Linked DNA regions of Homo sapiens: region 1 is linked to region 2. Evidence: promoter capture Hi-C in 16 types of primary human blood cells and fetal thymus (Javierre and others, 2016). All regions are on one chromosome and are shown on one strand. Each heading gives the region's core, a stretch centred on a gene start or on the middle of the fragment in contact. The rest is flanking DNA. Distances are from core to core; before and after follow the strand shown.

Region 1 (3,095 bases), core at 573-3,072, about 13 Mb after region 2:
AGTGGACACTTAATTTTGGCATGTCCACCATGATACTTTTATAAAAGGCCTGAGAAAAATTTCACTCTTAACACCCCTCTTCTAAGTAACATTTTATAAAGGTCAAGGTTCTGACTAAAGAAGCCCTTGCTATGCTAATCATAAAGATTGTTTTGTTGTCTTTGGACCACTGGGACATGAGGAGCTACGGCTGAAACACTGACTTTGAGACTTGATAACTGGAAGAATTCAAATGACACGAGTCTTCACAAAGAATCATTTTATAGATTTTTTTTCCTGTGTGGATTCTCTGATGTTCTTACCACCCCTATTACTTTTATAGGATTTATCACCAACATGGATTCTGTGATGAACTGTAAGATTTGATCGCCAACTGAAGCTCTTACCACATATCTCACATTTATAAGGTTTCTCCCCAGTGTGAACTCGCTGATGAGACTGTAGTTGTGAAGACCGACTGAAGACTTTACCACACACATCACATTTGTATGGTTTCTCTCCTGTGTGGACACTCTGATGAAGTTGAAGACTTGAGGCCTGACTGAAGTACTTACCACACTCCCCACATTTATATGGTTTTTCTCCTGTGTGCACCCTCTGATGCATGTCAAGGTTCAAGCTCCACTTGAAGCCCTTCCCACACTCATCACATTTGTATGGCTTATCTCCAGTGTGGACTTTTTGATGGGCTTGAAGATGTGCACTCCGACCGAAACTCTTCCCACATTCTTCACATTTGAATGGTTTTTCTCCACTGTGGACTCTCTGATGGGCCAAAAGATTTGAGGCCTGCCTGAAGACCTTCCCACACTCCTCACAATTATATGGTTTCTCTCCTGTGTGGATCCTACAGTGAATTTTAAGATCTGCTCTACGACTAAATCCCTTGCCACACTCTTCACATTTGTATGGTTTCTCACCCGTATGGATCAGCTGGTGAATCTGAAGTCGTGAGCTCTGATTGAAACCCTGCCCACACTCCTCACACTTAAAAGGTTTCTCTATACTGTGGGCCTTCTGATGGATTTGAAGATACGAACTTTGACTGAAGCCCTTCCCACATATCTCACATTTATAGGGTTTCTCTCCTGTGTGGACCACTAGATGAACTTGATAATGGGAATTCCTCCTGAAGCTCTTCCCACACTCATTGCATTTGTATGGCTTCTCTCCAGTGTGGACTCTCTGATGGGCTTGAAGATTTGAACTCAGAGTAAAGCCTTTCCCACATACAGTACATATGTATGACTTCTCTCCAGTGTGAACTCCCTGATGGGCCTGAAGACTTGAAGGCCGACTAAAGCCTTTACCACATTCCTCACATTTATAGGGTTTTTCTCCTGTGTGGACTCTCTGATGAATGTAAAGATTTGAGCTACAAATGAAGCCCTTACCACACTCCTCACATTTGTATGGTTTCTCTCCTGTATGAACTCTTTGATGGGATTGAAGATGTGAATTCCGACTGAAGCTCTTACCACATGCATCACATTTGAATGGCTTCTCCCCAGTGTGGAGTCTCTGATGGTCCTGAAGATGAGAGGCCTGACTGAAGGCCCTCCCACACTCCTCACAATTATAAGGTTTCTCTGCCGTGTGGACCTTGCAATGAACATTAAGTGCTGATCTACGACTGAAACCTTTCCCACATTGCTTACATTTGTATGGTTTCTCTATCACGTGGACTTTCTGATGGGTCTGTAGATGAGCGCCCTGACTGAATTCCTTACCACACTCATCACACTTAAGTTTTTCTCCCACATGTACTTTCTGATGAACAGGAAGAACTGGGCTGTAACAGAAGCCTTTTCCACGCTCAACACATGTAAGAGACTTCTCTCCTGATTGTAACTGCTGATGAAGATCAAAGCTGGAGAGATCACTGAAGGGTTTTTTACACTCATTACACTGGTACGATTTCTGTCCTGTGTGAATCATGCTATTGTGATCAAATGTCAAAATCTTCATGTTGTCTTTTTCATAATCATTGGGTCTATAAGATTTTTCACTTTTGTGTACTCTATGACCATCATGATGTGAAATCCAACCGATGGGATCAACACCCTTCTTACATTGACATAATTTATTTTTTATGGAAATTTGCTGATCTCTGTTCAATCTCTGTGACTCAGTCAGGAATGTTTTCCTCCAAGAATCCTGGGTTCTCAAGATAGGAAACTCTGGATTCCCAGTATTATTGGGACCATCTGCTTTATTTACTATATAGTTCTCATCTTCAGAAATTTGAATAGACAGTTCTGTCCCTACCTGGTAAGGGAAATCACCTTGTTTGTGACACTGAGAATTATTGATCATGGAGTCTTGACACCTGGTTAAGTCATTTGCAATTTGTTGCCAGATTTGCCAACAAGAAAGCTCTTCTTCTGATTCTCTGTCTTGAACAGTAATTAACTTACTTTGATTTTTCTCTCCTGTAAGGACAAAGGATTCAGAGAGATAGTGAATTTTTTTGTTCAAAGATTTAAGATTTCACACTGAGGACAGAGTAAAAGACTTTAATGAACCTCGGGATAGTTCTGCTCATCTTTTGTGACACATTTGAAGTTTCTGGTTTACATACTGACAGAAACCAAGAGATGGTCCAAAACCAAGAGATGGTCCACCAAGCTCCCAATTGCTAAGCACTAATGAAACCCATTTAAAAACACAACTACTGACATACTATCTAAATTTTTTATTCCATGTCTTTCCTACCATAATATGGTATCAATAAGGAAAAACATTTTGTAGTGCTCACAGTTTACAACCACAGCCCAGAAGTTACTGCCCGGCAGTCATTCATAGTCACTCAAGGAATGTATGCATATATGAGTCCTTCCAACATTTCTTCATATATAAATGACTTCCAACATTTCTTCTAACTTCAAATCCAAGTTTAAGTTTGAGCCAGGTCATAGAGCAAAAGAGCTTTTACAAGTAAGGTATCTGAAATACAAAAAGAACTAGAAAGTACAGTTTTGCTGCAAAGTTGAAAAGCTGTACCTGAGGTAGGGGTACACCAAGTGAGTTATTGCTGAAGAGAAAAATCAAAGTTGATAATCACTTGGGGTGAAAGGAAAGCATGAAGACCTATG
Region 2 (3,370 bases), core at 731-3,230:
ATACATATTCCTCTGAAGGGGAGCTGCAGTGATCCTTCATTAGAGATGTTCATCAATTCTGCTTACCTGAGGGTTTGGGTAACTGAGGCACCAATGCACTGGTTGGGGATGGGACTGCTCCACAGGCAGCGCCCATGAAGGCATGCTGAGCCTGTAGGGTGGCAAACCTACTGCATCCCTCACCTTGGTCTCCAGTGCAGGCCAGGCTACTTATGCTCTACAGCCCTCTCCTCTTGCTGACACTATAAGATATAATAAAATTCCTCTTCAAAGGTTTAGCCTGTTAACTTCCTTGTTCTTTGTTCTCAAACCTTTCTTGTTCTCCATGCCTCCTTGCCCCTAGTTACTATAAACAACCTTCCTGTAAGCACTAACCAATAATTCACATCTGTTCCCTTACTCACTTTGCACCCATTGCCCCCGCCAAAACCACACGTCCTACACAACTCACATGTCCCACCACTGTAACTCACCTTCCCCTTCCCTCTTCCTTATTTGGAAAATACTCACAAATACCCAATTGGCTCAGCTTAGATTAAGCGGTCCGACCCCAGCCCATGGGGGAGTGACACAGAGGAAGGTAGGGACTATGGGTTAGAGATAAAAACCCCTTCCCTCCTTTGTTCAGTGTGCTCTTGGGATCGTGATTAACACAGGCAGCACACTTGCACAGAAGTAAATTGCCTTGCTGAGAAAACTTTTGCCTGAGTGCTGGTTTCACTTTGCAGCACCAAGCATTGACTTCCAACAACACCATCTAGAATGCTTTCACATGCCAGGACCCCTCCTTTCTGGAAGGAATCTTAAGTGTCCACCCCTTCATCCCTGGCCTTCCACCCTAAACCCACCTCTCACTTCAGAGACCACACAAAATAACTTCCTTGAAATTCCACCCTCTAAATCTGATCTACTACAGGCTTTGACCTTATGCCTCACCCATTGAAGTCTCTAGCACAACTCCCTCTCTAGAACCCCAGACCTGCATGTTCAGCTACCCGTGATGAACCTCCAGTGCAGAACACCTTAGATTCACCAAGTCCAAAACCCAATTCCTGATGCCCCTGAAACGTGCTCCCTGCTGTGACTTACCAATTTCCATTCTTTCACACGTTCAGGAAGGAAAACAGGCCAAAAAAACCCTGGATAGCCCTTTCCTCCCTACATTCACTCACGACCACATCTGATGCGGCAGGAAACCCCATTGGTTCCATCTTTAAAAATCTACCCAGAATCTCATGACTTCCCCACCCAACCCCTCCTGCCACTGCTCTGGCCCAGCCACCACCGCAACACTTCTGGAGTTTGTTGCAGGGACCTCCTCAAACGTCTCCTTGCCTCCATCCTCATCGTTTCTACCTCACTGTAGTCGGTTTCCTCCTCAGCAAACATTGGAATACTTTAAAAATCCTTTTTCGGATCCCTTCCCTCCACCATTCAAAACCCGCCATGGCTCCTATCGTCCTCGCAATGAAGGAGCAACTTCTCCCCTCGACATTGCAGGCCTGACTACGGTTCACACACGCTCCCGACTGCTACGGGCTCAGTCCAGCTCCAAACCTATGCTCAGGCTGCCCCTCTGCCAGTCACACTCGCCCCCACCCACCAGCGCCCCGCTGCCTTGGACACTGGGGCCTGCGCTGCAGGGACTCAGACAGGCGCTCCTCATTTGGAACTTCAGGATTTGGGGCGGGCGAAAGTCTGGGAAAGGCAGCACCCACCTGCGCCGGGCCCATCACCGCGGCCGCCGCCATCACAGTTCGTAGACCACCCGGAGCCGCGAGGGGGTCCCAGGTCGCGGGACCCTGGCACCGCGGTCGTCCGTCCCCGGGGGCGCAGGCGGGGTCTTCGCTGGCGAGCCACTCCGCAGAGCGAACAGCGACTTCTCCCGCACCCTCCCGCTTCCGTCACCTCGGAACCGCCCAGCAACCCCGAGCTTCTGCTCCGATGGTTCCACCTAAGAGCCGACAAGATGTCCACCGCGAGGAAGATACCGGAAGTCCCGCCCAGAGAGCTTCCGTCCGCAGGGAGACGCCCCTAAGAGTGCCGCCGCCGGGCGGCGCACAGGTTTCTGGGCAATGCAGTTCTCATGTGCACTTGGCCGTGGTGACGGCTAACTCCCCTGCACGCTGGGCAAAGGCCAAATGGTACTGCGAGGGGCGCTGAGAAATTATGCCCTGAGACTCTGAGGTCAGGGCGTGGCTTCGCTCCTTTTAAAGGACCCTCAACCAGGTCTTGTGTAGTGAGGTCTGCAGGGATCCCCGAAATATTGGGATATATTCTTACAGATGTTCCCTGAAGCCACACCACCAAATGGACACACAACATCCAATGTCACTCTGAGTCCACTCATAGTTCAGTCAAATTTCCTTCATTTAAAAAATATGTGTACTGTAGAGGGAAGCTTTGAGTCAGTTTTGTGAGCCTCAGTTGGGTCAGAGTTAACAGAGAATTGTCCCCAGGCAGGGCCATGGAGTGGAAGAATGGTCTCCAGACAGTGGCTATGGAGGGATGCTGGAGCTCCCTGAGGCAAGTGGACTAATATAGAGCTCTTCCTCTGGTTTCCTCAGAAAAAAAATACCTGAGAGAACCATGAGGAGGAAGACAGGCGAGAGAAGGTGGTCAAGGAAGGCACCTTTCCTGCCTGTATGGTCACTAATGTCCAACCAAAGGAGAAATATTCTTTTATCCAAATGAGAGTTCCTAGCCCAAAAGTTGAGATATATCTATTTCCTTTTGGTGATGTTTCTTATCTGAAAAGAAGAACCATTATAAATGCTTTTATATGCCAAGACAGGGGCTGAAAATGTGGTGTCTGAACCCAGAAATAAAGATTTGGAAAATTGGGATCAGATTTCTTGGCTGGGAGGTGATTCTCATTTCACCTGCAATTACACCGACAGTGTCTGAATTGAGAATTGAGATTTATTTATGGTTTTAAAAAAGAAAAGGGCGAGTGTATGGGGAAAGAAAGACAAAAACATTTGTGAATTGTTTAAATTACTCAAAAGTTGTTTTGTGTTTTTTTTTTTTGAGACGGAGTCTTGCTCAGTCGCCCAGGCTGGAGTGCAGTGGTGCGACCATAGCTCACTGCAGGCTCCGCCTCCCAGGTTCACACTATTCTCCTGCCTCAGCCTCCGGAGTAGCTGGGATTACAGGCGCCTGCCACCATGCCCGGCTAACTTTTTGTATTTTTAGTAGAGATGGGGTTTCACCGTGTTAGCCAGGATGGTCTCGATCTCCTGACCTCGTGATCTGCCCGCCTCAGCCTCCCAAAGTGCTGGGATTACAGGAGAGCCCCCGCGCCCGGCCAAATTACTCAAAGTTAATAATTCTGTAGTTATTCACAGATACATGACGAAATGGACCTGGA

What was found. Contacts are between HindIII fragments. The CHiCAGO score rates a contact against its expected background, and 5 or more counts as called.
Region 1: a contact is called between a fragment that was not itself captured here and the fragment with the promoter of ZNF134 in region 2, in 1 of 17 cell types (total CD4 T cells). The highest score is 6.1, in total CD4 T cells.

What each region holds. Positions count from the first base shown.
Region 1 is chr19:44,174,835-44,177,929 of GRCh38, reverse strand. It overlaps ZNF226 (zinc finger protein 226), which reads right to left. Exons shown (of 6, transcript NM_001032373.2): 6 at 245-2,432. The coding sequence ends at 256. Among named protein-coding and RNA genes, the nearest start is that of ZNF226, 11 kb to the right of the region's middle. The HindIII fragment of the contact is 8,400 bases long and covers 1-3,095 here.
Region 2 is chr19:57,612,852-57,616,221 of GRCh38, reverse strand. ZNF134 (zinc finger protein 134) reads right to left here and starts at 1,980. Exons shown (of 3, transcript NM_003435.5): 1 at 1,719-1,980. RefSeq lists a silencer at 1,726-1,775 and an enhancer at 1,906-2,085. The HindIII fragment of the contact is 2,580 bases long and covers 1-2,403 here.